3 separate regions of the Homo sapiens genome follow, and regions 1 and 2 are each linked to region 3. Evidence: promoter capture Hi-C in 16 types of primary human blood cells and fetal thymus (Javierre and others, 2016). All regions are on one chromosome and are shown on one strand. Each heading gives the region's core, a stretch centred on a gene start or on the middle of the fragment in contact. The rest is flanking DNA. Distances are from core to core; before and after follow the strand shown. Region 1 overlaps LOC124909485. Region 2 overlaps DNASE1L3 (deoxyribonuclease 1L3). Region 3 holds the start of ACOX2 (acyl-CoA oxidase 2).

Region 1 (3,361 bases), core at 491-2,990, 360 kb before region 3:
AGACAGAGTCTCACTCTGTTGCCCAGGCTGGAGTGCAGTGGCAGGATCTCTGCTCACTGCAGCCTCCGCCTCCCAGGTTCAAGTGATTCTTCTGCCTCAGCTTCCCAAGTAGCTGGGACTACAGGCGTGCACCACCATGCCTGGCTAATTTTTGTCTTTTTAGTAGAGATGTGGTTTCGCCGTGTTGGCCAGGCTGGTCTTGAACTCCTGACCTCAAGTGATCCGCCCTGCCTTGGTCTTCCAAAGTGCTGTATTACAGGCGTCAACCACTGCGACTGGCCTGTTTCTCCTTTTTCTAGAAGAGCTTTTGATTGCTGAATGCTTACGAGGTACCTAGCACCCCTCCTCCGCCCCCACCTCCTCCTCCTCTGTCTCCGCCTCCTCCCCACCCCACAGCAGTGATACCGCTTTACAGATGGCACTACCACCTCAGGTGCTGCAATGACATGTTTGCAGATGCAAAGCTCACTTGGGGGAAGACCCTAGGCCCCTGCCTTCTTGACCCCAGGGTGCTAGCTCTACCCCCTGGTGATACCGCTGTGGAAACAGGAGTCCCCAGATAGGCCCCGGCAGGTGCCACGGTGATGGGAAATCACGGCTGGGCCCCCAGCCCTCCAGATGGGGGTTGGGGGTGGAGAGAAAAGCAGGGAAGGGAGACTGGATTCTTCTGACACCTGGCTGTCAATTGGGATCAATTGTTTGCCTCTGAGAGGAGGGAGGAAGAGAGTGGAGGAAAGGTCCTCTCCTCCCGGAGGGAGCAGCCTTATCTGTGGCCTGCACCAGGAAGCACTGCTTCCTGGACTCCTATCTGAGAAGGTCCGTGGGCTTCGGGATTCTGCAGTGGCGGGCAGTTCCCCCACTTGCCAAAGAGTCCATTCAGGCTCTGCCCGGTGGGGTCTGGCCGGGCCACAGTATCATGCTAGTTTGCCCACAGAGGAGCACAGGGCGCAGCCATTGGTCTCTCCACTGTGAAGCCTGGCGGCTTTCTGTTGGGGGAGGCAGCATTTGTAAATTAACAGCATGGGCTTTGGTGTCAGGCACCCCAGAGCTTCAACGCTGGCTCTGCCGTTCATTAGCTGTGTGGCCCTGGGGAAGTCGCCTTGCCTCACCTCTCTGGGTGGTCGTGAGGATCAAATAAGAGCCCACAGGGAGCTGTAAGGAACAATTCCCTGCCAGAGTCTCAGCCACTGCTGTCTGTGACCAACACCTGCTGGAAGTGATGTTCCTGGCAGAAGGCCGCCCCCTGGCTGCTTGTTGGCATCTGGGGCTACACTTGGTTGTCCCCTGCATGGGAGCGATGGTGATGTTACCCTGGGGTAAATTTCCCCACTAGAAGCCACTGCCTCCTGTTACATCAAAGACATCCCAGGGTGGGATGCACCTCTTTATCAGTCAATGGCTAGGACCACAGGGCAACCCTTACCTGCACCTGGGCTTGGCTGCTATGGAAACCAGCTGTTTGTGCAAATACCTTGAAAACTTTGAAACTTGACCCCGGACAGGCCTGGTGCCAGGTCCTTTCCGACTTTTGTGTTTTCTTTCCACCTTTCACTACTGACTTTGCCTCTTTCCTACCAGGAATGGACAGGGCCGATGGAGGTGAAGCGGACAGCAGCTGCACTGCCCTGTAGAGATTCCCAGGCCCTGCCCACTTCAAAGCACACAAGCCCACCTCTTCCTCATCACATTTCCCTTTGCAACCCAGGGAGGCACTCACCAGGATGCTGCCAAGAAGGAAACATTTTATTAACATGTTTCTTTGTTTCCGATGCACTTAAAACACTTGGGCCTCTTGACCAAGTCTAGTTTTAGGACTTCAAAGGGGCGTTGAAAGCCACATTTTGATGACTTTGGTGTAAAATGAGTAGGGCATATCGGGATTTAATTTCCCTTGAAAGTTGCACAGACTTAAAAATTAGCAGAATAGGCTAGCAGAATAGGCCGGATGCGGTGGCTCATATCTGTAATCCCAGCACTTTGGGAGGCCGAGGCAGGCGGATCACCTAAGGTCAACAGTTCCAGACCAGCCTGGCCAACATGGTGAAACCCCCTCTCTACTAAAGATAGAAAAATTAGCTGGGCGTTGTGGTGCAGCCTGTAATCTCACTACTCAGGAGGCTGAAGCAGGAGAGTTGCTTGAACCCGGGAGGCAGAAGCTGCAGTGAGCTGAGATCGTGCTACTGCACTCCATCTGGCCTAGGCAACAGAGTGAGATTCCATCTAAAAAAAAATAAAACAAATAGTAGAATAAAGGTTAAAGGCAAAATGAGTGCTTGATCCTTGTCAACCCGCCAAGTTTATATTAAAAATGGGGAGTGTTGCTGTTAACTGAAGTGCGCATTAGCCTCAGTTCTCAGCCCTATGGAAGTAGAGTCAAGGAAAGAGATGGAGTCTTTCCAAATCTCCATTAACTTGGAGGGGGAAGAGGCTGTATAATCTGTATATTTCACGAATGAAAACTCCCAGAAATTAGTATCTTATGCAGGTATTTTTTCCCTTTCACAGTAGTAAATCATAATTTGAGGAAGTAAAAATGTCACATTGGGGGCAGTAAGGGCTCAGGCAAGCCTGGATTCAGTTTATTTTTCTGGCTTTGTCCTAAGGATGCTGCCTAACGCATGGTGGGAGGAATCTTTCTAAACAAAGAGATCCTTCTCTGCTTCGTGATAAGGCTTTTGTCTGAGCCCCCAGGCCCACGGGGACCGGCTCATGGGCATGGAATTTAGGGAGACCTACTCCACAGCCCTCACACCCTTTTTCTCTCTTCCTCAAGAGCTCTCAAGAGCAGGCAGGAAATGGAGAATCTACGAGCCTGACTTGTGGCACGGATCCACATATCCAAGGGTGTTTTGTATTTTGGACTCGCTTATCTCCCCGGGACAAAGTACAAAGATGAAAGAATCTGCAAGCCTTTTGTTGCCCATGTTTCTCCCTCTGCCCTGACTGCCTTGCCAAGATACCAAAACACCTCTCCCTGTCGGGGGCTGCCCTCCCTTTCTAGGAAGTGGACGTGCTTAGGGCAAAGCTGGTGCTGAACCCCGGCAGGGTGTATTCAGAGGAGGAGAAAACCTCAGCAGAAGCACCAAGTCCTGGAAATGCCAGCTTCAGGCCCAGCTACAAGCAGCCTGCTCCATAGCAGCAGAATAACCTCGTGTAGCAGCAGCATTCAGAGAACAGCGGGTCACATGCTGCAGGTTCAAACCGGATTCCAAGCCCAGCGCTGCTGCTTACCAACCGAGATACCTCAGGCGGTCACCTTCTCTGTGCCTCACTGCTCTCATCTGTAAAATACGGAAATAATGGGAAACTTCCATTCTAAAATCAGATGAACTCCAGAAAGGCATCTCCCCCTGCCTCCCTC
Region 2 (3,607 bases), core at 219-2,718, 350 kb before region 3:
CCATTTTCCCCAAAAGGCCACCAGAGTTCCTTGCCCAGGCCAGGCCAGGTGACCCAAAGGGACAGGAGGATGTTTGCAGCTCCATTAGGTTATGCGCAGTGAGACATGCCCTGCGCTGTGCCCTCTTGCCTGTCAGAATTTGGCCGGAATAAGAGCTGGCAGATGCCTGTGGCTCCAGTAACCTGCTCCTGGGCAGGAGTGGAGAGATGTCTTGTTGGGAGGAAGCTGCAGGGTGTCAGGACCAAGTCAGAGCCATGGACTGACTCATTTAGTGTCTGGTCCTCCTTCCCATTCCTCCCCCACCCAGCATGGAGTCTCAAGCCCCAGCAGCCAGGGTTCTTATCCCAGCCATGTGGGCTTTCGGAGCTTGCAGTACTTTGGGACAGAAGGATGAGCCTCTCTCTCCGGAATAAGCCCATTTATGACTTGCTTGACTTTTTTTTTTTTTTTTGACAGAGTCTCACTCTGTCGCCCAGGCTGGAGTACAGTGGCACGATCTCAGCTCACTGCAACCTCCACCTCCCGGGTTCAAGCAATTGTTGTGCCTCAGCCTCCCAGTAGCTGGGACTACAGGAGTGTACCAGCATGCCTGGCTAATGTTTTGTATTTTTAGTAGAGACAGGGTTTCGCCATGTTGCCCAGGCTGGCCTCCCAAAGTGCTAGGATTACAGGCATGAGCCACCTCGCCTGACCTTGTTTGACCATTTTGGACCTTGGAAACTGGTAAGTTTCCTGGGACTATGAGCTCTGGCTTAGGAGAAGGGTGACAGATGTGTTAGCAGCCTTGCCATCACTCACCCCTCACCAATTCCAGTGAGACCTTTGTCCAATGAGGTTAATTGGACATTTGAGGAAGATGGCTTCCCGTGCTTAACCAGGGCCCTTTTGATTTTATTCCCCCAGTCAGATGTTACATAATTTCAAGTGTCAGACTTAAGGTCTTTTTCTCCTACATCAAAAGTCACATCATCCCCAATATATTAAAGGAAAAAAGCGAAGAGTGGAACCATGCATATGGTGTGCTATATTTTGTATTTTTAAGGTTACATATAGTGCTCATTTCTGTGCAGACTCTCTGGAAAAACACATGAGCTGGGAAGAGGGGCTGTTTCTGAGACAGGAAACTCGGGGATGGGGTCAGGGCACGGCATTCCTTTTCCCTGCTTATTCTTCGGTACTGTTCACACATTTAGCCATGTTCGTGTATGACTTGAACAAAGAAACATCAGGGAAAACAAAGCAAAACAAACAAAAATGGGCACCTTGGATACAGGCTAAATGGTGCTGTGTTGTTGGACTCCAATGAGCCTCCTTGATTGCAGAAAGATAACAAAATCCTCGAGTCCCAGCCAGCCCACTAGGTGTTTGTCACACTGGGGCCCCAAAGACCTCCAACACTGACCTTGGTGACAAATATAATGTGGTGGATGTTGCAATAGAGGTAGGGCGCACATGAGGGCTGGGGGCACTTGGCCCGGGCTCTGGAATAGGGCAGGGCATGGGGGGGGCAGAGCCAAGGCCCCCAGGGAGGGAGAGCATGGGGTATGCAGGGCGGAGGACATCCTCCTGGAGCAGGGGTTCAGGGTGGGACCCTGGCAGAAGGTGGGGCTGGCGCAATAAGCCAGATAGCAGAGACCTTCATGGTGGCCAAGACTGAGCTCTCTCCCATGGTGATGGGAGCCGCTGAAGGATTTATGGGCAGAGGGTGGGACTGAGGGTGGGACTGAGGGTGGGCTGTGGTCAGATTAGTATTTCAGAGGATGACACTGATGCTTCCTGGGCTGGCTGAGTTGGAGGACAATTCGAAGGCAGAGAAACCAGGTGGGAGTGGCCTTTATCCCTCAACACTGTGAGACGTGATGGTGGCCTGACCTCAGAGAGGAGGGGGCAGACTCTTAAAACAGTTAATTGCCCAAATCACAGGGGCAGCTGGGGCCTTGGTGTTTCTGGTCATTGCGTGTGGAACAGGACCCCTCATGAGGACTGAAAGCTGACGCTCTTCCTCCCCCTGCAGCCTCTCGCATGACAGGGTTGAGCAGGGCCAGTGACAGTGGATGGGGCTCTGGCTCAGGGCATGAAGATCATCATTTTGGTCTACAAATGCCCCTGGTTCCCTTTTAGACAATTCAGGGGAGGTATGAGACCAAGAGAGATACAAAAGATTCTCCTTCCAATTTGGCTCAAGTCAGAATAAATTCAGGTCAAAAAATGAAAGCAGTTGGATCACTCTTGTTTCCTAAGTACAGGGAGCAGTTCATATCTGTTAGAGACATTTTATTTAGAGGCAAGAAATGGTTAATAAGATGAGACCCTTGGGTCTAGGAGCGTTTGCTCTTTGTTTTCTTCCTTAGAGTGACAGATTTTTTGCTGTTGGTGAAGGCCCTTGAAGACTGTAGTTTAAATTCAACTGGAAAGTGGTCGCTGACATCCAGGGCCTATAAGGAGAAAGGGGAGGTAGACATGGAAATTAGGAGATGCCTGGGAGATGCTTTCATTTTAGCGATGAGCAAATTTAGGACCAGGGAGGGGAGAGGAAATGCCCGAAGTCACCCCACAGAACACTTACTGGTAAGCGTCATTCCAAGACCAGCTCGATCAGAAATTTTGGAGGGGCCTCAAATCACAGAATCATAGGCATTGAGGGTCAAGGTCTAGTGCCCAATGTTGTGTCTTCAGTGGTGACCTCAAAGGGTGGCATCAACCCATCTTTTTTTTTTTTTTTTTTTGAGACAGGATCTCACTCTGTTGCCCAGCCTGGAGTGCAGTGGTGCGATCTTGGCTCACTGCAACCTCCGCTTCCTGGACTCAAGTGATCCTCCCACCTCAGCCTCCCAAGTAGCTGGGACCATAGGCATGCATCACCATGCCCAGCTAATTTTTTTGAATTTTTCATAGAGATGGAGTCTCATCATGTTGCCCAAGCTAACTCATCTTTCCAGGACAATGGCATAGAAAGACAAGATGGCAACCTTACCTCCTCTTCAGTCAGCTTGTAAGCTTTCTGGAAGTCAAAAACACTGTTTGACTTGGGAACAACAGAACTGACGATTTCTTGTCCTCTAAGCACAATCCTGGAACAAGGGGAGGGAAAACAGTTGTGTTAATCCAACCTGTGATTGCTGAGATCAAACCAAGGTCTGTGTTTGCTGTCTGGAATTAACCGAGCAGTCTGGCCCTTTCATGTGGCGCTCAAAGTCCAGAGCTGGTTTTAGCCTGTGACCCCAAAGGACAGTGCCTACAACTGTGAAATAGGATCAGTCCCTGCCATGGTTCTGTGGACACCAGGACACTGTCTCCCAGTGTGGGCAATGTTCTGGTGGAGTAGGAGAAGATTTTATATGACACACGCACACTATCCCACACAACAATGACTTGCGTACTGAGAACGCTGTTCCTTTTTCAATTATTTTTCACTTTCCCTGATTTGATTATGGAGAAATTCTCAGGGAGGTGCTGGTTTGTCTTTAATACCTCCCTCAGTCCCGTGTTGACAGAGAGTAGGCTGCCATCTCCGAGCATTCTGCAGGCAAGAGAATTAAGGCAGAATTTAACAAGGCGTGATTTTCACTGGACTTAATTTTTACGTTACCTTCAATTTATGGCAAAT
Region 3 (3,502 bases), core at 922-3,421:
ACTGCATATACCTCTCGCTCTCTATGTCGGGGTGCATTTGCCTGCTCCAGGTATCCCCCAATGACACTCGGTGCACTGGGCTGCCCATCCTATCCTGGATCTGTCTGGTGACTATGGAGAGACACTTCCAACCCGGCTGCTCCGAGGGTCTGCTCTCAGCATTGGTCAGTGCAAAGAACCTGTGTGCAAGAGGAACTGCCTAGGGCTGGGTGTCAGCCAGGGCTGGTTGGTAGAAGAAAGACATCCCTAAGTACCTGAATGCCACTCCACCTCCCCACTCCCCCTGTGGACACTGGCTGTGGACCAGGCACTGTGTGCATGGTAGGCATGGTATGCAGCCATTGCTTGGTACATGTTTGTTCAATACTTGTTAGCCAAAATTGGACAGGGCCTGACCCCAAAGATTGGGCTCTATCCACTGCAGTTTGAGTTACATGAATTGCCTAGGGAAATCTTCACAAAAAAGTCAGTGAAGCTTACACCTGAAGAAAATAATCCTGGAGAGGTTGAGTGGCCCCTAGCCACACAGCTGGAGATGGCCAGGAGTTGGATGGGGTCTGACCACAAAGCACATGACTTGTCCATACTACAGCTCCACTGTGGAGGATTGCTGGGGGCACCTTGGTCTCATTAAACTGCTCATAAGTTCTAGGATCACTCAGCTCCATTTCTATGAGCCCTGCAGGTATATTGTGGAACTGAAGGGAGGAAGCCTTCTTCCTGCCTGTGAAGTGTTCCCCTGGAGCCCCTGAGTGTCTTTCATACCCAGGTTGGACCCTGTCTCCTTCATGGCAAGTGCTTGGCCTCTGAGAAGCCCCTATTCCTCCACAGTGAGGCAACCATGAGGTGCAGTCCATCCTATTTCACAAGTCTCTTGAGTCCATCTGCTCCTTGCTATCTCTTTGGCTAGCATCCAGGCCACTGTTATCTCTTACTTGGCCTCAGTGTTCCTCTTATTTGTTCTCCCAGCTGCCAGGTGAACTCTTGAACTGCAAATCACATTGTTTTCCTCTCCTGCTTGGAATCTGCTCCTTGGGGCCCACTGTTTGTGGAATGGAGTCCTTGCTGTGTCTACCCAACCCTACTCCACTCACCTCTCTCCTATGTCAACTTACTGCCCTCATCCCTGGCCTCCACTCATTCTCTTCCTACCCTTTGCCCCTGCTGTTCTCTCTGAACAAAGTTCAGCTCCCTCGTTCCCTGGGTGCTCTAGGGTTAGGGACAAGTTCTTATTTGCTTACATGTTCCTCCCACAAGGCCTGGGAGGCCAGCTCTGCATTTCCTAGCTTGCAGCAGGTATGTTGTAAATCTCTCCGGCAGGCTGCCATGCTTTTGATCCCCTTCCTTCCTGACCTCAACCTGACAGATGCACTGCTGTTATTACCATTTTATGGAGAGGATGTGGGCCTTGGAAAGGGAGGAGACTTTATAAGGGTCATGCAACCACATGTAGCAAATGATTCATATGAGGCTTTCAAACCAATACCCCCAGCAGGGCTGTGGGGGTGCTGGCAAGGGGCCCCATCCTCTGCCCCCCGGAGTCCTGCAAGTGCCCCTAGTGCGGCTCCTCTCGTCCTGCCTTACCTCTTTTCCTTGCTCTGCTGCCACTGCCTCCTTGCTGTTCTGAATGCTCCAGGCCTCCCTGCCACTGCCAGCATTTGCTAGGGCATCTCCATCTGCCCAGAACACCCTTTCTTCAAATGTCACTAGGGCTTTTTGCATTGAACCTCATTTAACCTTAAAGAGGCCACCCTCTTTAAAACCCCAAGCCCCCTCCCCCGGCATTCCCTGTCCTCCTCACTCTGCTCTCCTTTTTCTCTTTTCACTTATCCCCTTCTGACATTTGAGATCATTTACTCATTTCATATGTTTTTGTTTACTTCCATCTCCCTGCTACTAACACAGAAACTGCAAGAGGGCCGGGATCTTTGTCACTGTCATGCCGTGACCCTAACACTTAGTGCAGGGCCTGATTTGCAGGAGGTGCCCAGTGAAGAAAGCCTTGCTCAGGGTCTCTCGGAGCTGCGGACAGGGTCATCATGGGGGCAGCCCTCTCCTCTGGGGTCTCCCAGTCCCTCCCTGCCCAAAAACCTGGCTCACCTGGCTCCCCTCTGTCCTGTGTCCGCACTGTAGGCCGGGCTGGCCTCTCCCCGGCTGTAGGCCGCAGCCTCTGGCAGGCTTGTGGTCCTGCCCTTCTCTCCTCCCACATAGGGGCTGGAACACAGAAGCTGAGAGAAACTGCTTGGCCAGCTCTCAAGCCCTTGTCTGCTCTCAAGCCCTTGTCTGCTCTCAAGCCCTTGTCTGCTCTCAAGCCCTTGTCTGGGCTTATGGAGCTCCTCTCCTTCCTCCCTCTCTTCCTGCATGGGTGTGACCTTTGTGCCTGTCGCTGGGGCTGCCCTGGGAGGACTTCTGGGAGGTTGGAGCCCTTACATCTCAAAGCCAGGGATTCCTTTGACACTACTTGTACCAAAAAGCTGTGTACCCCAGCAGTGTTTCCAAAGTGATATCCTGGTCTTCCCTGATCTTTCACTGTGTGCCCTTCAGGCACTCAAGCTGTTAATATCACACGAGCTTAATAGGCTCCCCTGAGATGGTCCTCATGTGAAAGGATTGCTCTGTAAGGTGTACGTTTTTCCTCTCTCCCCATGTTTCTGCTCTAAAATATGGCTTGTCTTATGCTTAGCATCCCCTGACATTCCCTGGAAAAATATTTGTGAAGCATCCATCTGTAGTGTGTGGGATCCAGATGAGAGCTGGGTCTTAGTGAGAGGAATGAGAGGCTTAGAGGTTCCCTCCCTGCATAACCACCTTGGAAAGTCAGATGCGGCTCCCCATTTTGCAGGTAAGGAAACAGGCTCAGGGAGGGATGTCACTTTGTTTGGGTTTGCACAATAAGTAGATTACGTAACACATTTGTGTAAGACTGGGAAAGAAATCAAGGGGCCAGTAGGAGATCAAGGCTCCTGTTCTGGCAGGACTTCTGAGCTATGTTGACTCTGAGCAGGTGTACTCCTTTCTGGGCCTTGGCCTCCCCTGTAATGCAAGGTATTTGCTCAGTAAGGAGCCTCACAGCACCCCATCATATCCCCAAGGTAGTGTCTAGCTTGTGTCTGTAGGAAGAGGCAGGACCTGTGGCCCAAGCTTTGCAACTTATCACCTAGTAGGTCCTTCTGGAGCTGTGGGGCTCAGACTCCTGGCAGTCCTCATTGCTGTGGGCAGTGGTTTCAGGGAAGGTGGTCTTGGCCCCACTGTTTGGAGGTGAAAGTTCTTACTTACACCTGGACTCATCTCCGCCAAGGATTTATGCTATCACTGACCATGGGCAATGACTTAGTTCCTCTCTGCCATAGAGAAAGGCTTGGATTGCAGGAAGTGCCCAGTGAAGAAAGCCTTGCTCAGGGGCCCTTGGAGCAAGGCTTTTTAATAAACTCTCCATGTTTAAATTGTTTTCTCATCCGCTTTGAAGCTGACCCTGTTCTGTATGTTTTGGATGTGATCATTT

What was found. The method cuts DNA at HindIII sites, captures the fragments that hold promoters and counts their contacts. A CHiCAGO score of 5 or more calls a contact.
Region 1: a fragment that was not itself captured here is called in contact with the fragment with the promoter of ACOX2 in region 3 in 6 of 17 cell types (neutrophils, total B cells, naive CD4 T cells and 3 more); the score reaches 10.2 in neutrophils.
Region 2: a fragment that was not itself captured here is called in contact with the fragment with the promoter of ACOX2 in region 3 in 7 of 17 cell types (activated CD4 T cells, non-activated CD4 T cells, total CD4 T cells and 4 more); the score reaches 6.9 in activated CD4 T cells.

What each region holds. Positions count from the first base shown.
Region 1 is chr3:58,172,756-58,176,116 of GRCh38, forward strand. LOC124909485 reads left to right here. Exons shown (of 6, transcript XM_047449435.1): 3 at 784-895. Among named protein-coding and RNA genes, the nearest start is that of FLNB-AS1, 3.8 kb to the left of the region's middle. The HindIII fragment of the contact is 7,073 bases long and covers 1-3,361 here.
Region 2 is chr3:58,190,369-58,193,975 of GRCh38, forward strand. DNASE1L3 (deoxyribonuclease 1L3) reads right to left here. Exons shown (of 8, transcript NM_004944.4): 7 at 2,975-3,071; 8 at 1,889-2,435. The coding sequence ends at 2,319. Among named protein-coding and RNA genes, the nearest start is that of DNASE1L3, 19 kb to the right of the region's middle. The HindIII fragment of the contact is 3,053 bases long and covers 1-2,995 here.
Region 3 is chr3:58,535,019-58,538,520 of GRCh38, forward strand. It overlaps ACOX2 (acyl-CoA oxidase 2), which reads right to left and starts at 2,172. Exons shown (of 15, transcript NM_003500.4): 1 at 2,101-2,172; 2 at 1-179. The coding sequence starts at 88. LOC107984079 (a long non-coding RNA gene) reads left to right here and starts at 354. Exons shown (of 3, transcript XR_001740724.2): 1 at 354-1,296. The HindIII fragment of the contact is 2,666 bases long and covers 474-3,139 here.